Regions from separate parts of the Homo sapiens genome. Here region 2 is linked to region 1. Evidence: promoter capture Hi-C in 16 types of primary human blood cells and fetal thymus (Javierre and others, 2016). All regions are on one chromosome and are shown on one strand. Each heading gives the region's core, a stretch centred on a gene start or on the middle of the fragment in contact. The rest is flanking DNA. Distances are from core to core; before and after follow the strand shown.

Region 1 (5,183 bases), core at 58-2,557:
ATTTGGGGAGATTGGAGTTCCTCAAACTATAAGTGTGGCAGTTAAGCCTCTTTGCCCTGTTCCTGTGGCCACTTTTAGGGCCCTTGTGCAATACCCCTAGGTGGGGGTGGAGGGAAGGTTGAGTGAACTCAAGGGGGCAGAGTCCACTGTATTGCTCCATTCTGAGCTACCAAACAGCAGGTATGTCAAAGATGGAGGAATCATGGGGCTAGATCAGATACCAGTAATCCTAGTGGGTACCCTAGTAAAATTAGGACCTGAAAATATTTCAGAAACATACTTCTTATTTGTCCCTCTCCATTAGGAGGAGATGCCCTCTAGGAGTCATACATTTCTTTTCCTCCTTTGTGTCAGAACACAAGAAGGATTAAGGGTGGCATACCCATCCCGTCTAGAATATCAGTATTCAAATGAAAAGGAAACCAATCTCTTTTCATCAGCTCTAGAGAGCTGCAATTTTAATCTCCCTCTCTCATGGAATAATGGGATGCAAACCAAACATGCAAATCAATATTTGTTTTTTCTAAGTCAACAGTTCTTGTATTTTCCCAAATATCACTCCTTCCATTAATCTCTTCTTTTCAAATTCTGAAGTTCTCAGTCTTTTATGATGACAGGAGTTGGAGAGGGGCTAAATCCCTCCTGCCTAACTCCCCTATCTTATGGGTAAGGATATGATTGGGGGAAGAGTCCTGCAAGAGGGAGAATAGAATGGAGGGACTAGAGTTGTGGGGAGAAATCATTTACAGGGAGCAGCCCCCATGCTTGGAATCTCAATGTGAAGGGCATTGCTAAGTGGGGGCAGGATAGAAGGGTATCAGTGACTCATCATCTGAGGTCATATTTGGCCTTGGTAAGAAAACTACAGAATAGAGGACGTAGGGAACTCCTTCTAAAACTTCATCAGGAGTCTTGAGGTAATAAGGTAAAGAGAGGGCTAAGACTGCCAGAGGAGAGACAGAGAATTAAACTTCAAAAAGCTAGAGGCCAGAGGCCAGAAAGAAATAAGACAGAAAGAGAAATGGAGATTGGGGCACCTTGGTAGGGAGAGATCCCAGCATTTGGACGAGAGACATCCAAGTAGGTGTTTGTAATTTTATAAAAGTCTAACTTCAATATAAAAGCTTATTAAAGGAATTGCAATTTCATTTTGACTTACTGTTTCCAGAGGTCAAACATTACTCTGCTATCCAATTCTCCAGCCATGATTCCCTACTCTGTGGGTCAGCTCCAGCCAGGGGGTCCTCCGTGTCTCCCCCAGGTCCCCAGGCCGGCTGCTGTCTCACTGAGGTCAGGGAACCAGAGAAGGTTTGGTATGGGGGGAAGGGGGAGTATATGGCTGGCCAGAGTACTGGACAGCTGAGCAGGGAGGGAGGTGGCTACTGAGTTGACGGTTTTAAAAATAGCTAAGTCCAAAATTCCAGGAACGTTGGTGGGGGTAGGGTGTGGGAGTTGGGGGAGTGGGGAGGGTTAGAGGATTAGAAAGAATATGGAGTATTGAGTGCCAAGTCAGGGAGGGAGGAGAGAAATATGACAGACAAGTTGGATATCCAATTCCAGCTTGTGTGACTCTGTGGTCACTGCCTACTCCAGGCAGCCCTCCAGCATTTTCAATAATGTTGAGCTCCTGGCCTTTAAAAATTACAGTGGGCAATTGGATACCTTTCATTTACCATGTTCATCCCTGCTATGCTGAATATTACATTTAGGTTCTACAGATAGTATCTAGGAGGTAGCTGACTTTGAATAAGATCCATAGCAGAGGTAGTTCATAGCCCCTCTCCTATCTTTGCAGAGTATTTCAGAAGGACGAAAAAAGCCAGCTGTCCAGAGAAGAAATCTGAGCTGTGAGTTGCTTAGGATGAGGGTTTGTTCAGTCTATCCAGCTCAGATCCTTGCAGCTGTCTATCCTCCTACCTACTCCATTTTCATTACTTTAGTTTGTACAGCAATTCATCTTCCTCTCCCTCATGAATACACAAAAAATAAAGGCTCCCGATTTGCTTGGAGAGAAGGCTAACAAAGGCAAAGAGGTGAAGAAAGAATGGAAATAGAATTCTTCTAAAGAAAGAGTTGGAGAAATAGAAAAAGATTCAAAAATATACTTTTCCTTCCTTCCTTCCTTCCTTCCTTCCTTCCTTCCTTCCTTCCTTCACTCCCTCCCTCCCTCCCTCCCTCCTTCCTTCCTTCCTTCCGAGATGAGGTCTCACTATGTTGACCAGGCTGGTCTTGAACTCCTTGCCTCAATGAATCCTTCCATCTCAGCCTCTCAGAGTGCTGGGATTACAAGTGTGAACCAACATGCCTAGCCTCAGAAAGATACTTTTATGGAATAACATAATCTTGTGACCATAAATATTGCAAAATCTCAGCACTTTGGGAGCTGAGGCAGGAGGGTCACTTGAGCGCAGGAGTTTGAGGCTGCAGTGAGCTATGATAACGCCATTGCACTCCAGCCTGGGCAACAGTGAGACCCGCCCCCCCACCCCCCTTAAAAAAGAAAAGAGATACTGCAACCAAGGGATTTAGCCATGTCATGTTTTTGCAGCCATAGGTATATCTGAGATCATCATCTTTTAGTACTTGCCAAGTGAAATTAACAGAAGGACCGATTCCAAATACGGTCACTGTATTAGGGTTCTCTAGAGGAACAGAACTAATAGGGCATATATCTATATCTGTATCTACCTCTATCTATATAGAGATCTATATCTATATCCATGTCTATCTATCTAGCCATCTAGACTGGCCATCACCAGTCTGCTTTCTGTCTCTCTAGATTTATTAATATCTATATAGATATGGATATCTATATAGGTAGATATATAAATAAAGGGGAATTTATTAAGTATTAACTTACACAATCACAGGGTCCCACAGTAGGCTGTCTGCAAGCTTGAGGGGCAAGGAGAGCCAGTCTCAGTCTCAAAATTGAAGAACTTGGAGTCTGATGTTCAAGGGCAGGAAGCATCCAGCATGGGAGAAATATGTAGGCTGGGAGGCTAGGCCAGTCTCTCCTTTCATATTTTTCTGCCTGCTTTTTATTCTAGCTGTGCTGGCAGTGAATTAGATTGTGCTCACCCAGATTAAGGGTGGATCTGCCTTTCCCAGCCCACTGACTCAAATGTTAATTTCTTTTGGCAACACCCTCACAGACACACCCAGGATCAATACTTTGTATCCTTCAATCCAATCAAATTGACACTCAGTAATAACCAACACAATCACTAAGCCATCTTTACCAGTTGGCTCTATTTTAATACAGAGTCTAGAGGCCCTCATAGCACTCTTCTCAGGTATATATATGACAAATATTTTTGTCAAATATATACTTCTCAGGTATATATATATGACAAATATTTCTCAACCATTAGAGGCCATATCACAAGCAGTTTCATTATAGAAATGTAAAATGCTTCTAACCAAACTATTCAAGTGACTTTAAAACATAATAATTTGACTATGACAGCCTAAGTGGGATATACTATAATGCCAGAAAATAAATGCAAAAATATTTTTAAATAGCCATATTATGGTGTTAGTGTTGGTATTGTTATTCTGAGATTATTTTAGTTATGAGATAAAACAAATGATTAATAATGTTAGTGTCTCTGAGAACCAGAATTTTTGGGGTGGAATAAAGAGATACATATTTACGATTGATGAAGTTAAGAGAAAACTCCGTAATTCTGAATTTAAATTGCAAATATAACTCTGAACTCATGGTTTATTTTATCCTTAAAATTTTCCTAGCTTTACCCTAAAAAGGCCTGGAAACAATGATCCAGTAAAAATAAACACCTCTAGTACTCAAATTGTGCTATGTAAATACCATTTTCTGTTAAAAGGGACCAACAAACAACTCCTTGGATAAGTGGCTGATTTCAGGTTTGGGGCAGGTATTGTCCAAGATAGGCAAGGAAGCTTTCAAAGAGTGTTAGGATTGTAATAAAAGAACTTAGGAGCCAACTAGAATAGTTCCCATTGGCCAAAGATGGGGCAATTTAAGTATCAAAATGGATACTATCTGCAATGGATTGAAATTCATAAAATATGTTTAAATCCATGAATTCACAATGATACTTAAAAATACAAACCCATTGGTCATTGTTGGAGAATGCTGGCAGATCAACTCATTATTTTAAAAACTGCTGGTAATTGGAAAGAATCAAGTATTTATCCTGGTTTTCTTTTGGGAACTGTATCTCAAGATGAGGGGGAAATTTCTCTTTATAGAAGCATTCCAGTAAATAATTGAAGAAGGGATAATATAATTAGAATATCAACATTTTGTAAATCCAAATGAATTAATATATCTAGGCAATGGTCAACAATGACTGTGGCAGGGCACAGTGGCTCACACCTGTAATCCCAGCATTTTGGGAGGCTGAGGTGGGAGGATTGCTTAAGCCCAGGAGTTCAAAACCAGCCTGGACAACATAGTAAGAGCCCATCTCTACGTAAACAAAAAAACAGTGGCTGTTATTCATCATGAAAACAGAGATAAACATGTTTTCCTGATCATAGAGTACATAACTCCACCTTGCATGAAGTAGCCATACCAAAAACAAACAAACAAACAAACAAACAAACAAACCAGTCTGAATCTGATTAGAGCTAACTACTAATTTACAGGAAATACAGGAGACATTAAGTGGTAACTCAAAGGTGCAAATTCAGACTTTGTGAATACTCTACAGGACAAATGACCTGGGTTCGTTCTTTCTTTTCTTTTTCTTTTGAGACAGGGTCTCCCTCTGTCACCCAGAGATCTCGGCTCACTGCAGCCTCTGCCACCTGGGTTCAAGTGATTCTCATGCCTCAGCCACCTGAGTAGCTAGGATTACAGGCATGTGTCATCACACTCAGCTAATTTTGTATTTTTAGTAGAGATGGGGTTTTGCCATGTTGGCCAGGCTGGTCTCGAACTCCTGGGCTCAAGTGATCCGCCCACCTTGGCCTTCCAAAGTGCTGGGATTACAGGCATAAGCCACTGCGCCCTGCCAATATGTTCTTATATAAATATGTATATATTACATACACACACACAAATATGTGTGTGTGTGTGTGTGTGTATATATATGTATATTCTTCACATAGTCAATTGATATTGGAGAAATTTGACCATTATCTTTGTCAAAGCTCATTAACTAAACACCACTGGAAACAAATCTGTAGTCAAA
Region 2 (5,288 bases), core at 2,783-5,282, 320 kb before region 1:
AGCTTAGCAGCATGAGTTGGGAAGAAAGAAGAAGGGACTGTGGAAGCAGTTTCAAAAGTTAGTGGGTTGACACAGGAAAAGTTATCTGAAAAGATCTTTAGAGCAGAATAGTTCCCCATGATGCAATTCTAAAGGAGCCAGATGTGTATACAAAAGGGAATCTGTATTTTTGTTTCCATCTTCCCCCAGGATCGATTCTGAGTAAGGTAGAGTAGAAAGAGCAAGGGTTTTAGAGCCAAACCTAGTTTTTAATCCTGGCTTCACCGCTTGTTAACTGTAAGAACATGGGTGAGTTCCTTAATTTTGAGCTGAAGATAGAATACCCCTAGAATAGGAAGCACATGTGGATGCCGTGAAGATGGCTCACAGTAGAGCATGCAAGGCCTCTCAGCACAGTTTCTGGAGCATAGAAGTCCACTCCATCCAAGTTACTCTTTCCTGTCCTCTGATGAAACGCCTGATGCAATGGGAATCCCATTTTCTGTGAGAATATTTGAAATTTTTCCTGATTTTCTTTTTGCAGAAGACAGGAAGAAATTACAGACTAAGAATGGGCAGGCACCTCAATGATCAGGCAAGGGATTCTCTATCTACTCAGTCCAGATCACTTCTGCGAAGCTAATTTTAGCTGCTGAAAAGTCAGGGCTGGAGATTTTGTTCCCCATGAAAGAAAGCTCAAATAATAAACTCTGGACTCAAAAGTATCCTGTAAGTCTAAAAGCCAGGGAATTACAAAATAGAACCAAATGCTGTGTATCAAGGAGGTAAAAGAGTCCAGGGAGCTTTAACAGAATTTCAAGACTAAGCTGGCCAGAGAGTTCCACCGCCTGGAGTGGATAAGCTCTAACAGAAGTGAACATAGGGACCCAAGGAACAGACAGCAGTGGAGAAGATGGAGTGAGTGAAGCATTACCTTAGCTATAGATACCTGGCCCAGAGAGGGACCTTCATAGCCAAGGAGTAGCTAGTGAATAGGCTCACTCACCAGACAGCATCACTGAAATGCCAAAAGATCAGAGAGAGGGCATGGGATAAACAGCATTCTGCTTGGAGGGAGAAAGACAGAAGGGGGCTGTCACCAGCGATGGCCAGATGCAATGAAATACCATCAGGAAAGAAACAGCCCAGGTACTGTCATCTCTGCTCATCTTCCAAGGTCTGGGACTTAGAAGTGGCAGGATTATTCCATAAATATAGTCATCTACACCTGAACCCACCATCACCTTATCTAATAGTAACTAGGAATCAATTATGCCGTCAGTATCACACCACGAAGACAACAGAGCCTCTCCCCACAAGGCACTTACATAACCAACACTCAATCCATGAAAACACTAAACACTAAAAACTTAGCAGGGGCTGGGCGCGGGGGCTCATGCCTGTAATCCCAGCAGTTTGGGAGGCTGAGACAGGAGGATCACCTGAGGTCAGCAGTTTGAGACCAGCCTGACCAATATGGTGAAACCCCGTCTCTACTAAAAATACAAAAATCAGCTGGGTGTGGTGGCACACGCCTGTAGTCCCAGCTACTCGGGAGGCTGAGACAGGAGAATTGCTTGAACCCAGGAGGTGGAGGTTGCAGTGAGCCAAGATAGTACCACTGCACTCCAACCTGGGCAACAGAGCGAGACTCCATCTCAAAAAAAAAACAAACACTTAGCAGGACTGCTGGTGAGGAATGTTTAACCCTAGTTACTCTGACTGTGGAAGGGTATCTGATTGTATAATCTAGTATGAAACCATAGAGTAAGTTACTTCTGTTTTGTTGAGGCATAAGGAAAAGAAAGGGCAGGGTCTCTCCGGCAACATTAAACCTAGACATTACTTGCTTTCCACTGAACTCCATGCTTGCCTATAAAACACTCTGAACTTTAGCAAGAAAAAAGCCACATTCTCAGGACGCTTGACCACAGTGTGCACTTTGAGGAATGCTGTTCTTGCAGCACTTGTGTGCATCTGTGTAACAAGAAAGAAGAAAACAAACCCACTAGACTTTTGTTAGGAAAATACAGTTGGTGGAGACTGTGCAACATTAAGCCAGCAACTATAGACAGGCTGAGAATTCCCTACAGGCATCAGCCCTGACTCCAAGGCTTCATGCCTCACACCAGCCATGGCTGGCCTCCTTCAGAGCCTGCCACAGAGCCTTGGCACATGCTGTTCCTTCCAACAGCATAAGCAAAAAAATCCTGCTGTATCTGAGCTGCTACTGACAGATGTCTCTAGCAAGGAAGAGATAAAGACAACTCAATTTCACCCTTCTTCAAATATATTTTACCTAGAACAGATCCTATATTTTTATGCAGATCATATTTAAGGCTGCCTGGATTTCTCCTCTGAAAAGCAAAGCATATGGAAATTCAAATACTCAAGTATATTTACTTTAAATAATTAATATCAAAAATAGAAGGAGAAGCAAGATTCTAAAATATGTATTTGCCTAGTGTACTTTCCCATTGTGATAGTTACTGTTTGGTCTTAGCCAGGGATAAATTTCAAATATGAGAAATCAATGAAATCCATTCCATTGAGAATTATCTGGAGAAGAGTGATCCCAGACCCACTGAGTAGTTTTTATTTCTCATTTATGATCAAGAATGGAATCTACTTATCCCAAAGTTCATTTGGCCTGCTGATACTAAGTACCTTCCCTACCTCCAGCCACCATAAACAATACTTTGTCCTATATGGCAAGACTCTGGGCTGGAGTTCAAGGCCTTTCACAGTTTGATTGCTTATCTAAGAGTTCTATGAGTTGGGAGAGGGATAGAGCCAATATTGTGTGGAAACAGAGGCACCCACAGAGAGAGGACACCCTCATGCTGCTGATAGACAGCTCAACCGCCTTGAGTGCCAGCTGAGACAAGTGCTTTCCCCAAATCGACATTTTGTGACTTTTTGAACTTGCATTTCTACCCCCCCACTTTTTTTTTGGTATGTTTAAACTACTACAAGAGTCTTGCCTCGAGACAAACTTTCTAACCCTGGTTTTATTATACTACCATCTCAAAAATAATAATAATAATAATTCAAGAAAAAGAAGCTCGGCCGGGTGCAGTGGCTCACGCCTGTAATCCCAGCACTTTGGGAGGCCAAGGCAGGCGGATCACGAGGTCAGGAGATCGAGACCATCCTGGCTAACACAGTGAAACCCCATCTCTACTAAAAATACAAAAAATTAGCTGGGTGTGGTGGCGGACGCCTGTAGTCCAAGCTACTCGGGAGGCTGAGGTAGGGGAATGGTGTGAACCCAAGAGGCGGAGCTTGCAGTGAGCCAAGATCGTGCCACTGCACCCCAGCCTGGGCAACAGAGCAAGACTCCGTCTCAAAAAAAAAGAAGTTCAAGCTTCTTGCTCAGGCACTGAGGCTCAGCATAATCCAGCCCTACCTCAGGCCCCCAGCTCCTCAGCAAGCCCCAATTGGTCTATGCATGGTCACCCACACGAGCCTGCCCTTTGCTCATGCCCCATGAGCACTTACTCATAGTACGTGCTAAGTAAACATTTGTTCCAAGTGAACGAATTTAAGACCTACCATTTTCAAGGCTCAGTTCAAATTTTAGATTATATACGAATCCTTCCATGACCACCACAGTCTGAAGGTATCATTTCATCTTCTGAATTTCAGTTATCGCTCATGTACTTAACAAGTTCTATGTAATACCTACTGCGAGGCAGGTATCAGGGCTCAACCCAGAATAGCTACCGTCCTGCCCTGAAAGAGCCTGGAGTCCAGTGGGGAGAGTTATGAAGTTTAACTGCTGAACAACGTTGTGGGTGCTGGAATATTTAAATACAAAAGCTTTCTTATTGTTATATATATTTATTGAGCTCCCTACTAGGATTAGGAACCAGCCTAGGTACTTTTTATGGGTTCTGATTCAATCCTGATGGGCCATTTTACAAGGAAAAAGAAAAGAGACTCTGAAAAGTTAACTTGGTTTCCCCTGACTATTTGGATAAGCAGAGTCTGGATTCAAACCCAGTTGAGTCTGGATTCCTTCCACCATCTACCCTGCCTCCCAGGCCTGAGGTGTAGAATGTATTCTGGAAATACAAGTAGTCAGACTAGGAAGAGGAAGTCATCCCAGGCAGAAGGAACAGCAGGAGATGCATTCCCAGAATGGTGAATGGTTCAGAAAGATCAGAGCACAGTTATATGTTGAAAAAAAGAAGTAGGTTAGACTGTGAGCACTGGACTCAGTCCAGTAGACTATAGAGGAGCTTCAGGATCCATGTCGTGTGTCCCCAACAAGATAAGCTTTTTTTTTTTGGCCAGGAGGGATGGAATCTTGCTCTTGTGGTCCAGGCTAGAGTGCAGTGGTGCGATCTCGGCTCACTGCAACCTCTGCCACTTGGATTCAAGCAATTCTTCTGCCTCAGCCTCCTGAGAAGCTGGGATTGAAGGCACCCGCCACCACACCCGGCTACTTTTTGTATTTTTAGTAGAGATGGGGTTTCACTATGTTGGCCAGGCTGGTCTCAAACTCCTGACCTCAAGTGATCCACCCTCCTCAGCCTCCCAAAGTGCTGGGATTACAGGCGTGAGCCATCATGCCCAGCCAAGATAAGCTTTCTTAAGAGCAGGCACCACAGCCCCTTTCTGTATTCTCACACCATCAGGTATGTATTCAATACAACTGGTGGAAAGTCCACGGGCTTTTCTGGATCATTTAGTTTCATGTCCCCATTGGGACCCCATGGTTCTACGCAGCTTTATGAATGCTGACTATCTGTGCCTCCAACCAGGCTTGGCACCTCAGAAACCAGTGACCACCTCAGACCAAAAGCAAACCTTCTCTAGTTGCCACTAAGTGGGCTAGGGCTATCTTTTCTACTTTCCAAAACTCCTGCCATTCCCTGGGTTCCTTCATTTCCGGGGGTCATGTAATAGCAAAGCTGTCTGAAGATTATCTCAATAGCACTTAAGATGTGCTAGACACTATGTGCATTCATTTAACCCTCATAACTTCCGGAACTAGGTTCTAATATGCCCATTTGACTGACAAGGAAATAGAAGCTTAGAGAGCCTGATCTAGAGTGCAGGTTTCCAATCCCAGTGCTCATTTTCTTAATCACTTAGCCATGATACCCATCAGGCAAAGAGATTAAGGAAATCTGGGCAGTCCCTCATGAAGGACCAAAGAAAGAAGTTGCTGAGATCTTGAGGAAAACACGTCTAGCTCCAGCTTGCCACTCTCATTGCATCCCTATGCAACGAATGCAAGAATCATTTCACTAAGAAGTGACCAGAGAAACCCATTCCCATATGATTAGACCCTGGACTTC

What was found. Contacts are between HindIII fragments. The CHiCAGO score rates a contact against its expected background, and 5 or more counts as called.
Region 2: a contact is called between a fragment that was not itself captured here and the fragment with the promoter of HJV in region 1, in 1 of 17 cell types (activated CD4 T cells). The highest score is 5.5, in activated CD4 T cells.

Annotation. Positions count from the first base shown.
Region 1 is chr1:146,020,428-146,025,610 of GRCh38, forward strand. It overlaps HJV (hemojuvelin BMP co-receptor), which reads right to left and starts at 1,308. Exons shown (of 4, transcript NM_213653.4): 1 at 1,160-1,308. The HindIII fragment of the contact is 1,771 bases long and covers 1,127-2,897 here.
Region 2 is chr1:145,699,566-145,704,853 of GRCh38, forward strand. All of the region lies in intron 1 of PDZK1 (PDZ domain containing 1), which reads right to left. Among named protein-coding and RNA genes, the nearest start is that of PDZK1, 5.2 kb to the right of the region's middle. The HindIII fragment of the contact is 459 bases long and covers 3,804-4,262 here.